Regions from separate parts of the Homo sapiens genome. Here all the other regions are linked to region 3. The links are contacts of gene promoters, found by promoter capture Hi-C in human tissues and cell types (Jung and others, 2019). All regions are on one chromosome and are shown on one strand. The core of a region is centred on a gene start or on the middle of the fragment in contact, and the rest is flanking DNA. Distances in the headings are between cores, read along the strand shown.

The links. The method cuts DNA at HindIII sites, captures the fragments that hold promoters and counts their contacts. A contact is called where the count stands out against the background at its distance.
Region 1: a fragment that was not itself captured here is called in contact with the fragment with the promoter of CPA4 in region 3 in 2 of the 25 tissues and cell types used here (lymphoblastoid cells and mesenchymal stem cells).
Region 2: a contact is called between a fragment that was not itself captured here and the fragment with the promoter of CPA4 in region 3, in 1 of the 25 tissues and cell types used here (mesenchymal stem cells).
Region 4: a contact is called between a fragment that was not itself captured here and the fragment with the promoter of CPA4 in region 3, in 2 of the 25 tissues and cell types used here (IMR-90 fibroblasts and aorta).

What each region holds. Positions count from the first base shown.
Region 1 is chr7:130,109,399-130,116,192 of GRCh38, reverse strand. The region is part of intron 2 of KLHDC10 (kelch domain containing 10); the gene reads right to left. Among named protein-coding and RNA genes, the nearest start is that of LINC03008, 29 kb to the left of the region's middle. The HindIII fragment of the contact is 6,751 bases long and covers 792-6,794 here.
Region 2 is chr7:130,451,941-130,458,179 of GRCh38, reverse strand. No RefSeq gene overlaps it. Among named protein-coding and RNA genes, the nearest start is that of CEP41, 14 kb to the right of the region's middle. The HindIII fragment of the contact is 3,297 bases long and covers 1,188-4,484 here.
Region 3 is chr7:130,288,399-130,294,410 of GRCh38, reverse strand. It overlaps CPA4 (carboxypeptidase A4), which reads right to left and starts at 1,250. Exons shown (of 11, transcript NM_016352.4): 1 at 1,163-1,250. The coding sequence starts at 1,230. CPA2 (carboxypeptidase A2) reads right to left here. Exons shown (of 11, transcript NM_001869.3): 11 at 4,613-4,851. The coding sequence ends at 4,664. RefSeq lists an enhancer at 756-845. The HindIII fragment of the contact is 11,774 bases long and covers 1-6,012 here.
Region 4 is chr7:130,435,041-130,441,552 of GRCh38, reverse strand. CEP41 (centrosomal protein 41) reads left to right here and starts at 537. Exons shown (of 11, transcript NM_018718.3): 1 at 537-619. The coding sequence starts at 587. RefSeq lists an enhancer at 97-851. The HindIII fragment of the contact is 7,843 bases long and covers 1-6,512 here.

The sequences.
Region 1 (6,794 bases), core at 2,918-5,417, 180 kb after region 3:
GTAAAAAGCATGACAAATTCAAGAAAATGGCTGACAACTTGAAATTTTCAAGAAAAGAAGGAGGAAAGATTTAATAATCCAAAAGCTAACAGGACAAGTTTTCTTATTTCCTTAGAGGAGAAAAAAACACAGGCCAACTAAATTAAACTGTGAATATTAGAGAACTAAATAAATATAATCACGAATATGAATGAGTCATGTATAAATAAAAATACACACACACAAAATCTATGATTTTTCCACAAGATATAATTATACACTTACAATGAAAACTGGCTGTTAAGGAGTTACAGTAAAATTTTGACTTTAAATAACATCCCGGATATTATGGAGGTTAACAAAGAATCTCCTTATATTTATCTCAGAGAGCATCTTTCATCCTATTAAGAGCTTTACTAAGAAAAGCTATTCCTACAGTTTAAATTTGAAAGTGTCCTGAAGTCTAAATTATATCAACTTTTTTTTTTTTTTTTTTTTTGAGACCAAGTCTCACTCTGTCACCCAGGCTGGAGTGCAGTGGCGCGATCTCAGCTCACTGCAACCTCTGCCTCCCAGGTTCAAGCAATTGTCCTGCCTCAGCCTCCCAAGTAGCTGGGATTATAGGTGCCCGCCACCATGCCTGGCTAATTTTGTGTTTTTAGTAGAGACAGGGTTTCTCCATGTTGGTCAGGCTGGTCTTGAACTCCTGACCTCAGGTGATCAGCCTGCCTTGGCCTCCCAACATCCTGGGATTACAGGTACGAGCTACTGCACCCGGTCTCAACTAGTTTACTAAAAATTACTTCAAGGTTATTTTAGAGTAAAAAAAAACAAAAAACAAAAAACTTTATTGTAGTTTCTGTTATCCTTAAAATGTTTATACCAATCTATACAAACCCTTGCCCAACTTCAGAACCAAAGATGCTTAAATACATATTGGATGGAATAAGAAGCTACTATAGTTGTGACCCTAAAGATGAACGTAGTTTTTTATGTTGGTAATAGATACTAGTATAAAGTTAATATTTAGGACAACGCTAGACACCTAATAAACATGTTATACATTTATTACCAACCTAATACAGGCCTTCTATATTTACTTTTTAAAATCAAAATCCCACTTTCTAAGGTTATATTTTTAAACCAGAGCTGAAATTGTGCACAGATTGAGAGCAACAAAAAACAGTGAATCACTGAGTCACTCACGTCCAACCTGTTAGTCGTGTTTGAAAGTCTTTGATGGTTCCTCACCACTCAAGTATCAAGTCCCCTGCCCAACATGTTAGAGCTTTTCTCCTACTAACCTTGTCCTACTGTCAGTTTCTCATACTTCTCTCTGCTTGGAAATCCCAGAGTTCCTCCCTTACACCTTGGCCTAGTCTACCTACCTACCCATCAATCCCTACTTGTGGAAATACCTAAGTCTAGTGCACACCACCCTTTTCATCAAATGAACCCTTCCAGTTCAGTACCATACTACTCATATATTAGTGTATACATGTACAATTAATAAGATCACACCTTAACTATGTAAATACATGAATATCAGGCAAACTATAATCAGTTGGCAAATTTACTATTTACCTTAAATGAAGAACTCAGTTCCTCTTTTTAGGACTCTTGAAACAGAAAGTGTGGTGTGGAAGAAAAAATAAGAGCTCCTATAAATGTCTAAGTTTGAATCCAGGTTCTTTCTAATTGCTACTTTGAGCAAGTCACTGACCTTCATTTAGTCTCAGCTTCCTCATTTGCATATTGGGATATTATTACTGCACTTCAAAGATTTGTTAGATTTGTCATGTTGAAATGTTTATTGGCTTATACAGGTAACTTTCTAGGAGGCTGTGAGCTATTTGAGGGAAAAGGAATACATTTGTATTTACCTTTCTATAACCAAGCCTCGGGCACACAGCAAACACTAAATGAAACGGGAATCAATTTATTTGGCATTTAATTTTTTCTATGCATTTTGTCAGTTTGTTTTTCTTTTCCAAACAGTTTATAAGCTCCTCAAGGGCAAAGGTCATGTATAATAATTATCCTGTATCACCCACAACACCTAAAACAGTTAGTACCTAAAAACAGGTACTAAAAGTTTGGTTGACTTTAACGTCAGGCCAAAGTAAACAGCGACAGGGAAGATTAAAACAGTGTCTAACTCTCAGTGGACTTTGGTATTATTATGCCTAACAGATACATGGTTTAAGGCACGGGTGTTGGATTATGCAATGTTCTTCTCAAGGCACAAATGCTTCTTTCTAAGAATTAGCAAGACAAATTTAAAGAAGAAATCTAACAGAGTTGCTATGTTCAGCAGACAGGAACTCTAAAAATCTCTGTCATTTGCTGTATTACCTGAAGCCAACAGATAATTTTTAAAGCTGCTTTTGGGCAAATATGAAAAGAAATGCAGTCTATTCTACATTTTCTCTAAATGGCTGTACAGCAGGGAAAGTAATGTTATAAGTTTATTGCCAACTATCTCTGTGACAAATACAATTCACATGGATTACACAGTTGAGGGGTCTGTGAAAAGACGGTTTCATATTTCTCTACTCACTCACTCAGGTCAAAAATATTGGGCCAGGCATGGTGGCTCACACCTGTAATCCAAGCACTTTGGGAAGCCAAGGCGGGTGGATGACCTGAGGTCAGGATTTTGAGACCAGCCTGGTCAACATGGTGAAACCCCGTCTCTACTAAAAATACGAAAACTAGCCAGGTGTGGTGGCAGGCAGGTGTAATCCCAGCTACTCGGAAGGCTGAGGCAGGAGAATTGCTTGAACCTGGGAGGTGGAGGTTGCAGTGAGTCAAGATCGTGCCACTGCACTCCAGCCTGGGTGACAAGAGCAAAACTCCGTCTCAAAAAAAAAAAAAAAGTTACTATTGGATGCTGGCTATGTACTAAGTACCATGTACTGTGCTAGGTGCTGGGGATACAGTGATAAGGCAATGACTACCTCTGTCCTTGGGAGCTTACAGTCCAGCCTGCACAGCCCAAGTCAGTAGCCATGAGCCATAACATATGGCTCCTGAGCACTTGAAATGTGGGTGGTCCAAACTGAACTGTGCTTTACATGTAAAATACTCACTGGATTTCAAAGACTTAGTACCCAAAAATGAATGTGAAATTATTAGTTTTCATATTGATTGTATGTTGAAATGATATTTTTAATATACTGGGTTAAATAAAAATATTAAATAAAATTAATGTTACCTGTCTGTTTTACTTTTTTAAATGTGGGTACTGGAAAAATTTTAATTTTGTGGTTTACCTATTTCTGACACAGTGCTGATCCAGCCCAACTGTTGGTTTCTGTTAATAATTTCACGATCTCTGCAAATCACACTTTTGGGTAAAGAGCATCTAATCAATATTTGATAAATATTAAACATCCTGTCAAGGAATCTCATAGCTGAGAGTAAAAATGCAACTCCTCTTTCTCTCTCGCCAGTAACTACAGATTTCTTTCTCATATTTATAACCCAAGAGTGACTAACATATTAAAAAGCCATTCCATTTTGGATAAACCATGGGAATTGTCTGTCTGGATTAATGCCACGGAGACTAAGCATTAATTTTTATTAGGTGAAATATAGCATAGGGTCCTCAACCTTGACAAAACTGAAATTGTGTTTCAGGGTCTAAAGTAGCTCTCTAAATCCTCCCCCAACTTCTCCATCTGCAAATCCCATTTTCCTAAAAATTACTTGCTGCTAATAAAATCTACCATAGAATTCGTTTACCTGATTCAGGAACTCCCAGTGGGAAATGTAAAAGCAAAAAATTAAAACAGAACCTGTATTCACAGGTAAACACTTAATATCCAGAAGGGAACATGAAGCTAAAGGATTATGTCCCTGTGATGTGGGACCCATCCTCTCTTCCATGTCACAAGGACTTGCTCTTTACCCAGGGAGCAAGCAGGAACTTACGGTAACCAGGGAAATGGGTTTCAGTTTCTAGCCCAAAGGCAGAAAGAAGCTAGCTGTCTGAGATAATGTGACAGAAGGTTAAGTTGTTTCCAATGTTTTCACTACTACAAATAATATTGTAACAAAGCTTCCTCTACATATATTTGTATACAAATGTATGAGAATTTCTGGAGGTAGAATTTCTAGGTCAAAGGAATATGCATTTAAAATTTTTATAGAAAAAATAAAAAATACAAAACAAAAAATTTTTAATAGATACAATACTGTTATAGGGCCATACTGCTTTCCAAATAGAATGGACCCATTTCTACTCCCAGCAATGTTATGCCAGTGCCTACTTCTTCATGCTTTCTTTAGCCTTCTCAAATTTGTGCCAATCTGATGGGTATAAATTGGTGTCAGGTTAATCTGCATTTCCCTTATTTTACTAGTTCACATGTTTATTGGCCCATTTGTATTTCTTCTTTTTGGAACTGCCGGATCATCTCCTTTGCCTACTTTTTAGATCTATTAGGTTGTCTTCTCACCATTGTGTAATTTTTTTTTCTTTTTCCTTTGAGACAGGGTCTTACTCTGTCGCTCAGGCTGAGTGAGACCTACCTGTGGTAGCATAATCACAGCGCACTGCAGCTTCAACCTCTCTTCCTCAAGTGATCCTCTCACCTCAGCATCTAAAGTAGTTGGGACTATAGGCATGAGCCACCACACCTAGCTACTTCTTTTATTTTTTTTGTAGAGATGAGGCATCATTATGTTGCCCAGGCTGGTCTTGAACTTCTAATCTAAGCTCAAATGATCCTCCTGCCCCAGCCATCCAAAGTGCTGGGATCACAGGCATAAGCCACCTTGCCTGGCCCCAAATTCTTTATTTTATATGTATTTCTTCCAGCCTGCTCCTTGTCTTTTGTTTACGGCATCTATTAACATACAGAGGTGTTGAGTCTCTCAATCTTGTCTTTTACAGCTCCCTTGTTCTATATTTCATTCACCTCTGCATTATTATAAAATGATTAAGATATTGTCATTTGTTTCGAATAATTTCATGTTTTGATTTTTTATATTCAGAATTCGAATACATCAGAATTTATATTTTTGTGTGTTGTATAAGGTAGGGCTCTAATTTTTCCTCCCAAAATAAACAGGCTACTGTCCCCAAACCACTTAAAGAAAGCCACCCCTCCTATACTTATTTGAAATGCCACCTTTACCATATACTAAATCGACATGTTCTAGAGTAGAATTAGGAAAATCCCAATATTCAGGTCTAATCCCCTTGGACACAAAATTTATTGCTCTTTAAGAATATATGAATGTAAATATATATAAACAATATGTAAATATATAAAAGAACATCACAGAAGCTTAAATACAAAAGCTTGTAAATAAAGTAGTACATAACATTTACTGCTTAGTAAGTCTATTACTTACAAGATGTAGCCACCTACAGATGTGCTAATGAACATTTGTGGTGAGGCCATTTTAAAAAAAAACTTATTATTAAAAGTATTCATTAGTTATAAATATCGAACAGCCTAAATGATTAATCAATTTAACTGGTTACTTCTTTCCAAATGTAAAGGCCACAATTACCTCTACCACAAAAGACAGGTCTTCTGTTGGACCTAGAAGCCTCAAGGAAAGCCAAGGAAGTTTGATCCAGTTAGCTCTCCCATATCCCCCAAAAGGCAGGTACAACTTTTTACTACTCCCAGAGCCCAAGTTGCTCAGACCAAAGCAATCCATTCACACCAGCCCACAATATTACTTGTTGGTTATATAAGCATCTCCTACCACAGGGCCTCCCAAAGTGCTGGGATTACAGGTGTTAGTCACCATGCCTGGCCCTCATTACCACATTGTTTTAATTATTATAGCTTTGAACTATCTTTCAATATTTAGAACAAATTCCCTTTTGTATTACTTTTTCCCAAAAACTTCTAGTTATTTTTCTCCATTTACTTTTGCAATGAATTTTAGAATGAGTTTGTTAAGTCTATAAAAAGTCCCATGGACAGACAGCATCTTATCCAGGTGATCAAAATTAACATCACCAGTAATGGGACAAATCAATCAACATCATGTGCAATGAGATGATCACAATATTATTTCAGTGGTAGTCCTGCCAAAAATATATAAGCTGAATGTAACTATGAGAAAATGGGGAGAAACCCAAACAAAGGGACGTTTTACAATATACCTAGCCTGCAACTGTTCAAAAATATCAATGTCAAAAAGACAAACGCTGAGAAACTGTTCAACACTGAAGGAGGCTAAAGATACATGACAACAGAATGTAACACACAATCTCAGATTTTCTACTGCTATTAAAGAACATTATTGGCCCAGCACGGTGGGTCATGCCTGTAATCCCAGCACTATGGGAGGCTGAGGCGGGCAGATTGCCTGAGGTCAGGAGTTTGAGACCAGCCTGACTAACATGGTGAAACCCTATCTCTACTAAAAATACAAAAATTAGCCACGCGTGGTGGTGGGCACCTGTGATCCCAGCTACTCGGGAGGCTGAGGCATGAGAATCGCTTGAAACTGAGAGGTGGAAGTTGCAATGAGCTGAGATTGCACCACTGCACTCCAGCCTGGGCAACAGAGTGAGACTCCGTCTCAAAACAAACAAACAAAAAGAACATTATTAGGATAGTGGCAAAATAATAATGGCAAAATCTGAAACAAGGTCTGTAACTTATATAGTAGTATTAATTGTACCCATTATTTATAGGGTTAATAATCAGTGTTGATGCCTAATTTTGATACAGGTTCTGCAGTTATGGAAGAGAATGTCTGTTTTTCAGGAGCAAACACTTTGGTACACAGACATAAAGAGATATGGCAAAATAGTGAAACCCTATCTGTACCGACCCTGC
Region 2 (6,239 bases), core at 1,587-4,086, 160 kb before region 3:
TAACTGTAGGAGCTAAAACTGTAAAACTCTTAGAATAAAATATAGGGGTAAATCTTCATAAATGTAGGTTAAGCATTGTTTCTTAGATATGACACAAGAAACAAAAGAAACCAAGCAAATATAGATAAATTGGACTTCATCAAAATTAAATACTCTTGTGCTTCAAAGGACATGACCCATAAAGTGAGAAAACGACCCACAAAATGGGAGAAAATATTTGCAAATCACATGTCTGATAAGAGTCTAGTGTCCAGAAAATATAAAAGAATTATTTTAGCTTAACAATTAGAAAACAAGAATGAATTAATTTTAATGTTGGCAAAGGACTTGAATAAATATTTCTTCCAGGCTGGGCTCAGTGGCTTATGCTTGTAACCCCAACACTTTGGAAGGCTGAGAAGGGAAGATTACTTGAGTCCAGGTGTTTGAGACAAGCCTGGGCAACATAGCAGGACTTCATCTCTACAAAAATTTTTAAATTAGCTGGGTGTAGTGCCATGTGCCCGTAGTCCTAAGTACTTGGGAGGCTGAGGTGAGAGAATTGCTTGAGCGTGAGAAGTGGAGGCTGCATTGAGCCATGGTCATGCCACTGCACTCCAACCTGGGTAACAGAGCAGGACCCTACCCCAAAACAAAATAAAACAAACTAAAAATTTTTTTCAAAGAAGATATAAAAATGACCAATAAGCATATGAAAAGATGCTCAACATCATTAGCCATCAGGTAACGAAAACCAAAACCACAATAAGATACCACTTCATACACAGTAGGAAGGTTTTTATTATTATTATTATTTTTTGAGATGGAGTCTCACTCTGTCACCCAGGCTAGAGTGCAATGGTTTGATCTCAGCTTACCGCAACCTCCGCCTCCTGAGTTCAAGTGATTCTCCTGCCTCAGCCTCCCAAGTACCTGGGATTACAGGTATGCACCACTGTACGTGGCTAACTTTTTTGTATTTTTAGTAGAGACGGGGTTTCGCCATGTTGGCCAGGCTGGCCTTGAACTCCTGACCTCAGGTGATCCAGCCGCCTCTGCCTCCCAAAGTGCTGGGATCACAGGCATGAGCCACTGCACCTGGCCAGGAAGGTTATTATTTTTTAAATGGACAATAGCAAGTGTCGGAGAGGATAGGAGAAATTGGAACCCTCATACATTGCTGGTGGAAATGTAAACTGTTGCAGCTGCTTTGGAAAACAGTTTGGCTTTTCTTTCTTTTTTTTTTTTTTAGAGACAGGGTCTCGCTCTGTCACCCAGGCCAGAGTGTGGTGGCACAATCACGGCTCACTGCAGCCTCAGTCTCCTGGGTTCAAGTGATTCTCCCACCTCAACCTCCTGGGTAGCTGGGACCACAGGCATGCGCCACCACACCTGGCTAATCTTTTATATCTTTTGTAGATATAGAGTCTTGCCATGTTACCCAGGGTTGTCTGGAACTCCTGGGCTCAAGCAATCCTCCTGTCTCAGCCTCCCAAAAGTGCTGGGATTATAGGCATGAGCCATCGTGCCCAGCCTTGCAGTTTGGCTTTTCCTCAGAAAGTTAAACATAAAGTTACCATGTGGCAAAATTCCACTCTTAGGCATATACCCAAGAGAATTGAAAACATATGTTCACACAAAAACCTGTAAATGGATGATCATAGCAGCATTATTCAAAATAGTCAAAAAGTCAAACCCCTGGTCGCAGTGGCTCACGCCTATAATCCCAGCACTTTGGGAGGCAGAGACGGGTGGATCACTTGAAGTCAGGAGTTCAAGACCAGCCTGACCAACATGGTGAAACCCTGTCTCTACTAAAAATAGAAAATTAGCTGGGCATGGTGGCTGGCGCATGCCTGTAATCCCAGCTACTTGGGAGGCTGAGGCAGGAGAATCACTTGAATCCAGGAGGCAGAGGTTGCAGTGAGCCGAGACTGCGCCATTGCACTACAGTCTGGGCAACAAGAGCAAAATTCCATCTGAAAAGAAAAAAAAAAAAGGTCAAACCAACCCAGTGTTCATCAACTAATAAATGGATCAACAAAATTTAATATATCCATACAATGGGATATTATTCATCCACAAAAAGGAATGAGGTAATCATACATACCATAACATGGATGAACTTTAAAAACATTATATTAAATGAAAGAAGCCAGCTACAAAAGGCCACATGTTATATGATTCCACGTACATGCACTGTCCATAATAGGCAAATCCATAGAGACAAAGTAAATTATTGCTTCCTGGGGTGGAGAAAGGGGAGATGGGGTACTAATGTATATGTGGCTTCTTTTTGGGGTGATAAAAATAATTTGGAATTATATAGTGGAGATGGTGCCACAACCTTGTAAAATATGGTATGTAAATATATGGTATGTATGGGTGAGTTTACAGTATGTAAATTGTATCTCAATAAAAAAGGGAATATACAATTGCTAAGCCCCACATTAATATCTTTTTGCCTCTTTCTTTGTGTTTATATGTAATGTTTTAACCAAATGACATATTACTAAATATACTCTCTGGAAACTTCAGTTGCCTTTCCATTTCTGTAAGTTTCCATTTCAACTAACCCTCAATCATATTCAAATTTTTCCATTTGCTTAAAAATTTTTCTTTACAGTTAGTTTGCCCTAATGGATGGCCAATCTAGGACCATGTATTGCATCTTGTTTTGATGTCCCTTTAATCTCTTTGAAGCTAGCACAGTACCTTTTCCATGAGTTTGGCCTGCTGAAGAGGCCAGGTCAGTTATCTTGCAGAATGTCCTTCTGATTTTTCTGATTGCTTCTTCATGACGCCATTCAGCTTGTTCCTCCATCTCTTGTTTTCCCATAAAAGTTATATCTGAACTCTATGTTTCAGTTCAATACATTTTGCTAGAACATACCATAAATTATATTGTATGCTGCATCAAGTTACATCAGGGGACACATAATATCTAGCTGACTATCTGATACGGTTTGGCTGTGTCCCACCCAAATCTCATCTTGAATTGTAACTCCCACAATTCCCACATGTTGTGGGAGGGACCCAGTGGGAGGTAATTGAGTCATCGGGGTGGATCTTTCCTGTGCTGTTCTAGTGAAGGTGAGTAAATCTCAAGAGATCTGATGGCTTTATAAGGTAAGTTCCCCTGTACAAACTCTCTGTCTCTTTGCCTGTTGCCATTCATGTAAGATGTGATTTGTTCCTCCTTGCCCTCTGCCATGATTGTGAGGCTTCCCCAGACACATGGAACTGTAAGTCCATCAAACCTCTTTCTTCTGTAAATTGCCCAGTCTTGGATATGTCTTTATCAGCAGCATGAATAGACTAATACACTACCCATTAGTAAAACTAAGATTGACCACCCCCAGATATGAGGATGCTGACAACCTGACCCCTTCATTGTATGTTTTTTCCTCCTTGCCACTGAGAAGCTGTCTGGGATGTGTTTGTTTGGTACTATACAAGTATCTAGCTCCCCAGCATTTTTTTTTAACAACAATTGAAGCTTTTTGCCTGAATCAGTAATTTTATTTGGGCTTCCAAAATTTTGCTTTTCTTATTTTATAATTCCTTCTGCATTTATTTGATGACATTCTTCTGACAGAGCTTTTCCTCACCAACTGGGGACTATTTGCTTACCCTGAAATCAGTTCCTGCTAGAAAGGAAGAATAAATGCTTAATTTCCTCCAGTTAACTACGAATTTTTAGGTTTTTTTTCTTTTCTTAGAATAGGGTTCACCAACCCCATCTTCCTTCTCTCTACTTTCTACAGATCTTCCTTTCAACCTGAAAATGTATACAAGGCCTCTCTCCAGCCCAACAACAATCCATTTGGCATTTCCTCTCAGTAATTCCATTAACTTAGCTCCTAAATTTTTCCAGAACTCAAAGCAGCCCATCAAGATAAAGCACCCCAGAATAGCCACAGCACTACCAAAACGTTGGTGGAGGCCTTAGGACCAACAGAAATTATCCAAGCATCCATCCCAACAGGACTAACTCAACAGGGTAGAGGCTGGCCATCTCCTTCTCCTTCCTCCATTCCACTTATGCCTGAGTCCTTGACAGGGTGAACCACAGCCAGAGTCATCTCGATATCAGCTGTGTTCTCTGGAAGTGTTTTTTCCTAATCCCTGACCTTTGAAAATTATTGCTAAGGTGCATGAATGTATTGGCAGGGAACCACAGCACAGGAAGATAGAACTGTATCATGATAAAGAAAATGTGGTACATATACACCCTGGAATACTACACAGCCATTAAAAAAAAAAAGAAATCACGTCCTTTGCAGCAACATGGATGCAGCTGGGGGCCATTATCCTAAGTGAATTAACACAGAAACAGAAAATCAAATACCACATGTCCCCACTTATAAGTGAGAGCTAAACATTGGGTACACACAGACATAAAGATGGAAACAACAGACACAGCACTCTAAAAGGAAGGAGGGAAGGAGGGGGCAAGGGTTGAAAAACTACCTATTGGGTACTATGTTCACCATTTGGATGACAATTTCCATAGAAGCTCAAGTCTCAGCATCATGAAATATATCAATATAACAAACCTGCACATGTACCCCCTGAATCTTAAAAACAAAACACTGTATCATGAGCAGAGACCAGGCTTCTGAAGAAGAGGAAAAACCCTGCGGGAAGGTCCTGCCCATCAACACTGACTGTGGGTCCAAAGCCCTTTACCTCTATGAGGAAGAGGTAAGCCCAAAGCAAGATGGGTTTATACCTGGAGGAGCTGTGGCTGACTCCTCATACTTTGTCCTCAGCCCACACTGGCTGGGTAAGGGTGCAAACAAAGGGGAGCAGGACCTTGCTGGCAGTCCTAGCAAGAGCTGGAAGAAGGAGCACCTCTGCAGACCCTGGGGTATATAAACTGACTGATATAGAAACCAGAACACCAATGCATTCGTATACAAAGAGAACGCTCCTTGCCAAATGGACCAGATGTTCATGTTGACTGGTCAGCGCATTCTCTCCTGTTGGAAAATCTACATGGGAAGCCAAATTATAATCAGGAGGCTGTTTGTGAGCATGAAATCAGAACAAAGGGAGGGAATTGGATGAGCTCTGTGGCATCCATAGGGATATAGGGTGGACTGCATACTTGTGCCTAATGGTCAAAAAACAACTCTTTCCCTTGACAGGGCTAGAGACATCATGACAAATGTTTGTTCCTTGGCTCCACTTTTCAGCACTCCCTATAGACCACCCCCCTTCTGCTCACATATTCTTTCTTCAGCTGTTAAGGCCATTGATTAGGTTACAGCTTTCCTTCACATTCCGTCATGCTTTGATTAGGTTTCCAGGCACTGTTGCATCCTGTTTCTTAGGATGATATTTGCAGACATTTATTCACATCCATCGTGTGTGGATTTCACCAGTTTAACAATCAAAAGATACTATTTATCAGATTGGGAGATACTTCACATTATGCCCTATATACTGATTCACTAGACAGTAGAAAAAAAGGTGGTGAATGACCAGTATGCTAAAGGGGGAAGCTTCTCATGTCCTGGTCTTCCATGTCCCTTCACGAGCATTGTCCCATAATTATATTAATTTGACAACTATTGATTGAGTGCCTGCCATACACCAGACACCATACCAGGTACTAGGAATATAAAGAATGAGACATGATATCCCTGCCTTCAAGGAGCTGATAGGGTAGTGAAGAAGGCAGACAAGAAAGTCGCCTATCACAGTATAGCATGGCAGCCCACAGATGCCTTTAAAAAGAGCGCCTCCCAAAGTCTGGGATGAGGGTTGGTGGTCGCCCAGGAAGCCTTCCAGAAGGAGGTGATTTCCATCTTTATCCTAAAGCACAAGTAGAAGGTAACCAGATGAAGAGTGGGAGAACTTATCAAACAGAAGGACAAGCAGGCACAAAGACTCAGGGCAGAGACAACACGGCACATTTGAAGAGCTGTCTTCAGAATGGCAAGAACTCTTGGTATGGTAAAAGACTGAGTGGAAGTGATTGGTAGAGGACAGGATTTCAAAGGCCTCATTGTGGAGGTTCACTGCAGGGTTCTAAAGCCTACTCTGAAATTAATATAGCTGGTATAGCTTTGGTTGTGTTCTGTCTGTTTTTATTGTAGTAAAACGTACATAACATGAAGTTTACCACTTTAAACATTTAGATCTGCAATTGAGTGGCATTAAGTACATTCATAATATTGCATAACCATCTATTTCCAAAACTTTAACTCTGTAACTTTAAAACTCTGTAACTTTGTTTTTTTGTTTTTGTT
Region 3 (6,012 bases), core at 1-2,500:
AGACACAGGTGTGAACAGAAGTCATCATCATAAAACTTAGTCAATCTCATATAAGTAATTACCTCAAAAAACAACCCCAAAGTCTCATTAGCCAGATAGTAAAATAGAAAGAAAACTAAGAGACAGATCCAAGAGATATAGGATTTTATTTGGAGATGAACTTGTGTTATAGCAAAAGGGTACGAGTTTTACGTTCAGAGTTCCAGCTCCCCTGCTTCCCAGCTAAGTGGCCTTGAGCGCGTTCCTTAACATTCTAAGGCTGATTTTTTTCATGTTTAAGTGGAAGAAAATAACACCCCTGCCTGGCAAAGTTGTTGTGTGATCAAAAAGATAATGTACATGAAAGCTCTTTGCAAATGGTAAAGTATTATGCAGTAATGAGTTATTATAATTCAGTCTTCTAACAGGGCACCATGGTATCCCTTTTATCTCTCCTACCACCCAAATGTCCTCTCCCCTGCAAACCTCAAAGTATTCTGCATGGAGCGTGTTGAGCACGTGTGTGTGTGCACACACACACGCGCACACACACACGGTGTTCAGGCATGTGTCTCTGCATGTCATTTTCATAGCTGTGTCTAGGCAAGACCTGTGAAATCTCCACGTCCCAGAAGCCAGTAAGAAAGCACCAGCTCAGAAGAGGGTGTAGCTCAGGGGTAGAGCATTAAACTGCAGATCAAGAGAAGGCACCAGCTCTGCAAAGCCTTCGCCATTAACAAAGAAGTGAAACCAACAAGCTTGAGACCCAGGGTTTCCCTTTATGCATGGCGGAAATTGGAAACAAACCATTTCTGGTAACCAGTAACTCTTAGTAATTAATAACGTAGCTCTTAGTAACCAGTAACTCTTAGTAATTAATAAGGTAGGAGTAAGAAAGTAGATGCCTGGAACTGACCTTATAAGTAAGAACTAGGCAGAAAAAGAACTGGCAGGAGATGAGGGAGCTGGGGAGAGACTGCAATGATCATCTAGTCCTGATTTCACAGATGAAATGGGGTCTCAGAGAAGAGAGTGGACTTGTCCAGGATGACACAGGGGCAAAGCTGGAACAAGAGCCCAGGTCTTCTTCCTCCATGTGAGCTATTATCAGCCATTCATTTTCAGTTCCATTTGGCTCCCATATTTCTGAAATAACCAAATAATAAGTCCAAAAGGAACTTACCCAAAAAATTTTTCTTGGCCACAGATGCTGGACCCAATAAGGGCCCCAATGAACAGTATCCACCTCATGTCCCCGGGGAGTCAGTCATACAGTGGCTGAGTCAAGCTGTATTTATAAAGAGTCTGAGAGTGACTCAAGTCCTCAAAAATGCTAATGTGATTCCCAAGCACCCTTGCAACTCTGACTGTGACAGGCAGGCCCTACCAATGCCTCTCCCATTCCTTTCAAGTGATAAAGGTTGAGCATCTCAATTTACAAGGTCAGGAACTTGCTCCAGGAGCTGAAAAAGTCTGTGCCAAGGGTACCATATTGCTCATCACTTGGCATTTAAATAGTGTTTTTTCAGTGAATAAGCTAATTCCACAGTGTTGGATGGAATTTATCCTGATAGGAGAGGTCAGATTATAAACCTGGCATAGAATTACCTCTAGAATAATAATAAAAAAGTTAAGACTATCAAAGCAAGACTGAGCTGGCTCCAAGACCACATGCTTGACAAGCCCTGCCAGAGAATTTCACCAGGGCAGGTCAGGATGAGGAAAGAGGTTTGGGGCCTCTTTTATGTATCTGAAGCCTAATTCTTCTGACTCCACTAAGGAAATAGAAATGTATCAGGCAAATGATATAGAAAGGATGTTTTAGTCTGAATAAATTATCAGTGTTCCTTGGGGTCTGATCTATGGGGAAGGCTTAATGGTTTTATCAATAATAAGATTTTCAGCCGGGCGAGGTGGCTCATGCCTGTAATCCTAGCACTTTGGGAGGCCGAGGTGGGCGGATCACGAGGTCAGGAGATTGAGACCATCCTGGCTATCACAGTGAAACCTCGTCTCTACTAAAAATACAAAAAATTAGCCGGGCGTGGTGGCGGACGCCTGTAGTCCCAGCTACTCAGGAGAATGGCGTGAACCTGGGAGGCGGAGCTTGCAGTGAGCCGAGATCGCACCACTGCACTCCAGCCTGGGCGACAGAGTGAGACTCCATCTCAAATAAATAAATAAATAAATAATAAGATTTTCTTATACTTCCTAGACTGTGGGTCTGGTGTCCTTTCCGCCAAGTCACAGCTGAATAAATGGAAGACACTCATATCTCCATAACGCCTTCAGGGGCTCTGGGACCTTTGAGTCTGTCCTGGGAGCCCCAGTTCCCACAGCCTTTCCCATCCCACCCTCCCTACGGTCTACATGCTTTCCACACCCACTCAAAGGGAGTGGACACAACCAAGGGTCATAGTTGAGAGAGTTAAAGAAAAACTATCCTGACCTGTGTTAAAATGTAAGACCTAATTCAAGATTATTATGATTAGGACCATGGCTATTTCAGTAGGAAAGACTTACTGTGCTTAACACTGAATACGGCAAAGAAAACAGAGAGGATCAGTGGGATTACTAAGAGAAGACATCAAGGTAGGGGGATTCTTGCTAAAAGCAGGCCAAGGACTTATACATCAAAGTCCCCATCAAAGGTGGGGATGAGGAACTTGATCAGATATCAAGGTGGGAGGGATGACTTCGCAGGATCTTTGCTCAGGCTGGCTTAGCCAGGGCTCAAGAACCAGCCTAATCAAAAGGAGGGTGCAGAATCTCAAGTGTGGTCCCAGAGAGAGCCTTTGTTAGGAGCTGTGGAGCTAGGGGCCATCATCTCCTCTTGCTCCCTCAGGGTCCTTTTGTCCTCTCAACACTTCAACTGAATTCCTACACCCACCCTGTCCACCACAAAGCGTGGGCTCAGCGTCACTGAGATCGATGTCAGCTTTGAAGTCAGCAACAAGAACAACTGAGACCCAAATCTGTAAGAGATGTGAAGTGGGAGAATCAAGGACCAAGCATTCTAGGCAAGCTGAAATTTAGTTCCTACCTTTTCTCCCAGGGAAAATCATCCACATGAAGAAAACCTAAATCCCTAATGGGAGTCAATATCTAAAGAGAAACTGTGTGCAACCTGAGACCGAGGCTTGATAGGGCAACCAGGAAAAAGGAATGTCATTGGCTTGGGTCCCCACCATTTGTGTGTTTGTTTTTTTTGAGACAGAGTTTCACTCTGTCGACCAGGCTGGAGTACAGTGGTGCGACCATAGCTCACTGAAGTCTCAAACTCTTGGGCTCGAGTGATCCTCCCAACTTAGCCTCCCAAGCAGCTGAGACTAAAGATGTTTGCCACCATGACGGGTGCTTTGTTTTGTTTTTGTACAGACGGGGTCTCACTGTGTTGCTCAGGCTGATCTCAAACTCCTGATCCTCCCACCTCAGCCTTCCAAAGTGCTGAGATCACGGGCCTGAGTCACCATGCCCTGCCCCACAAGTCTTCATAAAGCAGCACACCAGGAAAGGAAAAACCAAAGGCAACAATGGAACCAGGTATAGCACCTGGCACGAGGCCTGGCACAGTGCAGTTGCTTCATGAGTATTTATTGAATACATGAACTTGAAAGTCCATTGCTAGCCCTAAAATGCTACACTCTTACGATGAAGCAGTGACACATGCTACACCATGGATGAACCTTGAAAACATTATATTAACCAAAAAAAAAAAAAAAAATGCTAGCCACAAAAGGGCAAATACTGTTTAATTCCGCTTATACGAAATACCTAGAATAGGCTAATTCGTAGAGACAGAAAGTAGCTAGTAGTTGCCAGGGGCTGAAGGGCAAGAGGAATGGGGAGTTATGGTTTAATGGGGAAGAGTTTCAGTCTGGGATGATAGGAAAGTTCTGGAGATGGATGATGGTGATGGTGGCATAACGTTGTGAATGTACTTAATGCCAATGAATTGTACACTTAAAAATGGTCAAAATTGTAAGTTTTGTGTATAATTTAACACAATAAAAAACTGTCAAATGGGGCCAGGCACGGTGGCTCACGCCTGTAATCCCAGCACTTTGGGAGGCCGAGGCGAGTGGATCACTTCAGGTCAGGAGTTCAAGACCAGCCTGGCCAAAATGGTGAAACCCTGTCTCTACTAAAACTACAAAAATTAGCCAGGCATGGTGGCAGGTGCCTGTAATCCCAGCTACTTGAGAGGCTGAGGCAGGAGAATTGCTTGAACCTGGGAGGCAGAAGTTGCAGTGAGCCGAGATCGCGCCATTGCACTCCAGCCTGGGTGACAGAGTGAGACTCTGTCTCAAAAGGAAAACAAAAACAAAAACTGTCAAATGATGTTGGGAGCACTCTGCTCCGGATGGATTTTTTTTTTTAATATTATTCTTTTTAGAGATGGGGTCTCCCCATGTTGCCCAGGCTGATCTCAAACTCCTGGGCTCAAGCAGTCGTCCCACCTCAGCCTCCCAAAGTGCTGGGATTTCAGGTGAGCCACCACGCCTGGCCCCAGGATGGATTTTCTAAAAGATGAAGGGGTACAATGCCATGACTTGTTGTGTTTGAGGGCAGCAGAAACTGGAGAAACGGTGCTGCCAGATCAGGCTTAGAAAAATAAACAACACAACCCAACTTTGCTTCAAACCAAAGAGATTTTAATGGCTCTTGTTTCTTCCCCAGGGCCCTAATAGGGGTGGTCTCGCACATGCTCCATGATTGCCTTCAAGCCAAGCCAGGTCTCCTCGGCTGTGGGCAGGATCTGACGGGCTGGCAAGAGGAAGCCGTAGCGCCCTGTGTCTCTCAGTTCAAAGGCAAATGAGTACTTGATGCCATAATCATAGGACCAGTCAATGCTTCCTCCACTGGCTTGGTCTGAAGTGCAAACGAGAATAAAGTTTGGTTACACGACTACCACTAGCCTTCACGCAATGGAACCTCTATATTAAATTCTACTATCATAGGTAAGCCAGGCCCCTAGGTGTGAACTGTAAGAGGGGGGAGAGTTTAGTAGAGGGTCACATTTATGAAAAAACACAATAATTTGAAAAGCAAAAGGTGTTATTCAGCGGACACTGAACTGAGCCTTCCTTCAGTGCTCTTAGGAGCCCACGCCATCCTAAGTGGCCTCTTCTCCACCTTAGGTAGGCCACACCACTTCCTTCTTTAGAAGGCACAGACATGGTTTTCTCTAGTGGGAGTGGAGGGATTACAAATGCAGTAAGAGATTTGGTCCCTACCCTCAGGGGACTTTGAGCATTAAGGGTGGAGCACTCTCTGCTCTGCTATCAAATTGCAGGTACAGCACCTCTGTGTGGTGGGTTCAGCCAACACAGTAATGTGCACCTGAGATCTGTGTGGCCGCTGATGTGACAGATGAAGAAGGAAGATGGCATTAACTTACAAGTCAGTCATGACTCAGAAAAGCCGAGCAATGGACCGGCCCTGTGGCCCCTCCCAGGAAGGGCAGTTAGAGGTCACAGGAGGACTCGGCTGAGGCACAGATGTCGGAAGCTACCTAGTCCCTAAGAATGGGGCTGGAAAGACCAGGGAGGTTGTACCAGAAAAGAGTAGGGCTAGAGGTTAATATTGTGAATTAATATTGTCAACGCCCATGATTTTTGTCTTTGCCTTCACCCAGCAGAGCAGCTTGGAAATTAATGCCTGGTAAATAATAAATACTAAATGGTTGCTGATTTGAACTGAATCTTCCCTGGACCAAAATTACCAACTCATACCTTTTGGTGTGTCTACATGACACAGCCAATCACACTAAGAGGTCAACTGTAGACAGAATACTGGTCTCAGATAGAATCCCAACCCTACAAATCATTATCTGAGTGACCTAAAGCAAGTCATCTATTTCCAGATGCTTCACCTGTCACATAGGGATGATATTACTACTTGTTTCACAGGGGAGTGAGAATTAAATGGCATAATGGTTGTGATGACACTATTGGCTGTGTCAATGTGCTAGGCACTATGTTAAACTGGTTGTGAATCTCTAGGTAGGTACTAGCATTATTCCCATTTTAC
Region 4 (6,512 bases), core at 2,274-4,773, 140 kb before region 3:
CGATAATTACTGTATTTACCCATGTATTTTGCATAATTCGCATATTAACTTAACCAGAAAATAATAAACCATACTCTCCCATTTCTGCTGAACAACCCTGGCCCATATAATATTCCCTGTTGTGGAATCAGTAGCCCAGATGTTTGGTTGAAACGGCCATAAAACGGAGCTGGGGGATGGGGAGTCTTGTGTTGTATTTATGGTTCCACATTAGCTAAAACTCGTGTTTTGTCCCGGCTCTCAAGCCACTGCCCCCGCCCCCGGCTTTGCGCAGGCGCCAGCCTTCCCCTCCCCCCGCGCCTCTCTTCCCGCCCTAAGGCTGGAGCCGGCGAGCCCCAGCCCAGAGAACAAAAGGCCTCGCTAGCCGGCGTCCCGCGTTGCCCTTGGCAACCATTGAGCGGCGTCTTGCCCTTCTGCGACCCTGAGATGAGAGAGTAAACGGGGCCCCCATTGGCCGGCCGGGGAAGACGGGCCAATCGGAGAAGAGGGTATAGGGAGGCGGCTGAACAAGGTTGTGGGGGTAGGAAGCTAGGGTTAGAGGCAACCCGTGAGGCTAGAACCCCGAACGTGGTCGGTTGGAGAAAATATGTCCCTCCGGAGGCACATTGGGAACCCTGAGGTGAGGGCCAGGTCTCGGCCGGAGAGCCGGAGGGGGCGGGCGCACCGGAAAAGGCTCATGTGGGCAGGGAAGAGCAGCCAGCGACTTCCGCCGCCCGGAAGGCGGGAAGGGGCCGGCGTGAGGAGGGGTCGGGATGCAGGGGCGGGGCGGGCCGGGCTTGGGGGCCGCGGGGCAGCGTTCAGGACCCCGTTTTGAGGAGCGATCTCTCCCCGCGTACGCACGCCAGTACTTGTGACTGCGAGGAGCGAAGTACCCAAAGACACAGCCCTTGCCCTCAAATGGCTTACAGTCTCGGAGTGACAGTTACAAAACAGAAAAGACAAAGGAAGCGCTGCACACTAATGGCACGTGTTGAAAGCCAGCCAGCATCTCTGATTGTGGGGATACAGGAAGAGCAGGAGTAAGCTGACCAAACCTTTGGAAAACGGGCAAAATAGGACATTAGGCTTACCCCTCTCTCCATAGGACCCTTCAGTTTCTTCATCTGTTTCACCGCTAGTCCCCTGCTGCATTTGTGGCAGTTTCAACAAACGTTATTGGAAACTTCCACGGTGCAGTAGGTGCTAGACGTACAAAGAAGACAAGGCCTCTGCCCTTTAATAAATTGCGTATAGTGGACCAGGCGCGGTGGCTCAGCCTGTAATCCCAGCACTTTGGGAGGCCGAGGCGGGCGGATCACGAAGTCAGAAGTTTGAGACCAGCCTGGCCAACATGGCGAAACCCCGTCTCTACTAAAAATACAAAAATTAGCCGGGCGTGGTGGTGAGGCGCCTGTAATCCCAGCTACTCGGTAGGCTGAGGCAGGAGAATCGCTTGAACCCAGGAGATGGAGGTTCCAGTGAGCCGAGATCGTGCCATTGCACTCCAGCCTGGGTGATAAGAGCGACTCTGTCTCAAAAAAATAAAAATAAACAATAAATAAATTGCGTCTAGTGAAGGAGCCTGTGAACAGAATTTGAGTACAGTGTGGTCGGGGAGCAAGATGTTACGAGAAAATAGGTAGTACTCAACTGAGGGAGTGAGAGAAGGGTTGTGGAGATGGAAGGGGTGGCAAGGCCATTCATTAGCCAGGTGAAGCATCATCCCGGGTAGAACAGCCCAAGTGAAGGTAAGGAGTGTGTGAACTCAGAACAGGCCCCTGTAGGAGTCCAGGCTTTCTCTGCCTTGCTGAGGTTCTTAGCCTTTATCCCAAATAGGAGTTGTAACTGTTTCATCTCTTGGTGGCTGCCTGGTACTAGGCTGAGAAAGCTGTAAGGCTGAGTCTAAGCCCTGCAAGAGAGCCATGGTCAATTGGTAATGTCTAAATGCTGCATGATCTCACTTATACGTGGCATCTTAAAAAGTCCAGCTCATAGAAGTAGAGAATAAAATGGTGGTTACCAGAGCCTGGAGGGTGGGGGGAAGGAGGGCAGAAATGGGAAGATGTTGATCCAAGGGCACAAAGTTACAGTTAAACAGGAGGAATGGTTTTTGAGATCTCTGGCACAGCATGGTGACTATAGTTAATAATAATTACAGCAGACTCATAACCCCCAGTAGAAAATCCATGTACAACTTTTTACTCCCCTCCCCCCTGCAAAAAAACTTAACTACTAATAGCCTACTATTGACTGGAAGGCTTCCTGATAACAGAAACACTTGATTAACATATTTTGTATCTCATATGTATTATGTACTGAATTCTTAAAGTAAGCTGGAGGAAAGATTATTATTAAGAAAATCATAAGGAAGAGAAAATATATTTACTATTCATTAAGTGGCAGTGTATCATCATAAACATCTTCATCCTAATTGTCTTCATTGCTAAGGGGCAAGGAAAAGGAGGGGTTGGTCTTGCTGCCTTAGGGGTGACAGAGGCAGAAGAAAATCTGGGTATAAGTGGATCTGCACAGTTCAAGCCCATGTTGTCCAAAGTTCAACTATATTGTAGATTTCAAAATAGAGTAAATTGTATATTTTATGAGAGTAAATTTCAAATATCTCACCTCAAAAAAAAGATAAGTGGGTTGATGGATATGTTAATTTGATTTAATCATTCCACATTGTGTGTGTGTGTATATACCAAAACATCAAATTGTACCCCATAAATGTATAAAGTTATGATTTGTCTATCAAAATATTAATAAAAATGTTAATATTGTGTATCATGGGGGTGGGAGAGATAGGTGAGGAGAATGGCAGTTTGCCACATATTTATCTTGTCTGCTGGTCAGGATTTGAGAAATTTTTTGAGTTATTAAAGGAGTGACATGGTCAGATTTGCATTTTAGGCAGATGGCTGTAGCTACATTGTGGAAGATGGGTTTGAGGAGGCTCCAGGACTGGAAATGAGATTGGTTAAGTGGTTACTATTTTTTATTTATTTATTTATTTTTGAGACAGAGTCTCACTCTGTCACCCAGGCTGGAGTGCAGTGGGGAGATTTCAGCTCACTGCAACCTCCACCTCCCGGGCTCAAGCAATTATCCAGCCTCAGCTTCCTGGGTAGCTGAGACTATGGCGCACACCAACAAAGCCTGGCTGGTTTTTGTGGATTTTGTAAAGATGCGGTTTTACCATGTTGCCCAGTCTGGTCTCAAACTTTTGAGCTCAAAGCCACCCGCCTGCCTTGGCCTCCCAAAGTGCTGGTATTACAGGCATGAGCCACCGCGCCCTGCCAATAGTTACTATTTTGATAGAGATCTAAACTAAGGCCATTGAACTAGGGATGGAATCGAGGATAAATATTTACGGGGGCAAAATCATCAATACTTCCTGATTAGCTTTGAGAGATGCGTGATGGGTGACTTAAGTCTCAGCTTAGACTACTCATTGGTGCTGGCGCCATGAGTGAGATCAAGAATATGGGAGAACGAAAAGGAGGAATAGTTTTAGGAGTGTGGGGGAAGAGGAGCAAGTATGTTCCGTGTGGTTATGTTTGTGCCCGAGACAAAGATGCCCAGTTTACTCTCTTGTTTGAATAGAGCACAACTTCTAGTAGTTTCTTAAGAAAGAATTCATAAGAAATAGTTTTAAAAATTTATGTCTAAAATGTTAGGCATGTCTAAAAATATTCTTATTCTACCTTAACATTTATTTGCCAGTGAGTTTGGCTGAGTATAGAATTATTGGTTGAAAATCATCAACATCTTTTTTTTTCTTTTTCTTTTTTTTTTTTTTTTTTTTTTTTGAGACAGTCTTGCTTTGTCACCCAGGCTGGAGTGCAGTGGTACAAACATGGCTCACTATATCCTTGACCTCCTGGGCTCAAATGATTCTCCCACTTCCTGAGTAGCTGGGACCACAGGTGTGTGTCATCGTGCCCAGCTCATTTTTTTGTATTTTTTATAGAGATGGGGTCTCCCTATGTTGCCCAAGAGGGTCTTGAACTCCTGGGCTCAAGCAATCCTGCCTTGGGCTCCCAAAGTGCTAGGATTACAGGTGTGAGCCACCACACCTGGCCATCATCAGCATCTTGCAAAACATTGCTTAGTGGTCTAGTGTCTTGTGTTGTTGTGAAGTCCAAAGCCATTCTCTTGCTTTGTGACTGAATTTTCCTCTCAGGAAGCTTGTGGAACCTTTTTTTTTTGTCCCCAGTGTGACTTTACAAAGATATTTATATTTTCACTCATTTTGATAGGCACCAGAAATTTATGTCTTTTTAGTCTGAAAATTTTCTTAACTTTCTCTCTCCTATTTTCTCCATCCTCTTTTTCTTGAATTCATTATTCTGATGTTCTGTATTCATATAGATAACCTATATGACTGGTTCTCTGATTTTCGTAACTTTCATCTCCTGTTTCCCTCATCTTTGTCTTTCTGCTCCCTTTGGGAGATTTAATTTTTATCTTCCAATCCTTCATTTTAGTTTTTAATTTCTGCCATCATGTTTTTAATTTGTTTGTTTGTTTGTTTTGAGATAAACTCTCACTCTGTTGCCCAGGCTGGAGTGCAGTGGTGCGATTTCGGCTCACTACAACCTCCGCCTCCCAGGTTCAAGCGATTCTCCTGCCTCAGCTTCCCAAGTAGCTGGGATTACAGGCACCTGCCACCACGCCCAGCTAATTTTTTTGTATTTTTAGTAGAGACGGGGTTTTACCATGTTGGTCAGGCTGGTCTTGAACTCCTGACTTCAAGCCATCCACCTGCTGCCTTGGCCTTCCAAAGTGATGGGATTACAGGTGTGAGCCACTGTGCCCAGCCCATGTTTTTAATTTTTAAGAGCTCTGTTTTTTGCTCTGTTGTACTTTTAAAAAACGTTTTATTTCAAAATAAGTATAGATTCACAGGAAGTTGCAAAAAAAAAAAAAATAGTACAAAGAAGTCCTATGTATCCTTCACCCATTTTCCCCAATGATTATATTTTACATGAGTACAGTACAGTATCAAACTAGAAAATAGAAATTTGCACAATGTATGTATAGTTCTAGGCCATTTTATCACTTGTATAGATTTAATCAAGATTTACATATATGTAGATTTGCAATCAAGATAAAGAACTATTGCATCACTAGAAATATCTCCAAGCTACTCTTCTGGTCACACCTACTTTCTTCCCTCTCATCATCCTAACCCTGGGTAACCATCTCCATAATTTTGTCATTTTGACAATTTTACATAAATGGAATCATACAGTATGTGACCTTTTGAGATTGGCTTTTTTTTTTTTCACTCAAGATAATGTCCTTGAGTCGCATACAAGTTGTTGCATGTAGCAGTAGTTCATTCTTTCTGGTACCTGATCAGTATTCTGTGGTATGAATGTACAGCAGTTTTTTTGTTTTGTTTTGTTTTGTTTTTTGAGACGGAGTCTCACTCTATCACCCAGGCTGGAGTGCAGCGGCACCATCTCAGCTCACTGCAACCTCTGCTGCCTGGGTTCAAGTGATTCTCCTGCCTCAGCCTCCTGAGTAGCTGGGATTACAGCTTCCTACCACTGTGCCCGGCCAATTTTTTGTATTTTTAGTAGAGACAACATTTCACCATCTTGGCCAGGCTGGTCTTGAACTCCTGACCTAATGATCCACCAGCCTCGGCCTCCCAAAGTGCTGGGATTACAAGCGTGAGCTACTGTGCCTGGCCTGTACAGCAGTTTTTTAACCATTCAACTAGTATAGGACATTTTGGTTGTCATCAGTTTTGGGCTATTACAAATAAAGATGACATTTGGGTATAACTCTTTGTGTGGATGTTAATTTTCATTTATCTGGGATAAACGCCCAGGAGTACAATTGCTGGGTTGTATGGTAAACATATGTTTAGTTTTATTAGATACTGCCAAACTTTTCCAGAGAGGCTGTACCATTTTACATTCCTGCCAAGGGTGTATGAGAGATTCAGTTTTTGCATACTCTTGGCAACGTTCAACACTGTCAATATTTTTTATTTTAATGTTTATAATAGATGTGTAGTGCCATCTCATTGTGGTTTTAAGTTGCATTTCCTTAATGGATACCAAGCACATCTTTTCATGTGCTTATCTGTCATCCATATATCCTCTTCAGTAAAATATCTCTTTGTGTCTTTTGCCTATTTTCTATTTTTCTTAACTGTTGAGTTTTTGTTTCCTTTTGTGTTGTTGGTGATGACTGTAAATATTATTGCAAAACAAGGAAATGTAGGATTACATTTCCTTTCTTACTGCTTTTTGTTTTTTCCTGGAGTTTCTGTTTCCTTTATTTTTAATTCTATACTTTTAATGAATAATTCAGGACATTTTCTTATATCACTATGTACTATGTTTTCATAGTTATCTTTTCCAAACCTTCTCTGTACATTTGAACATGTGTGTGATTGGGGGATGGAGAGAAATATAAGAGTTTTATTTTGTAGTTTTGTTTTACATAAATGTTACAACATTGTATATATAGTTCTTTGACTTGATTTTTTTCACTTAACAATATATCCTGGAGAT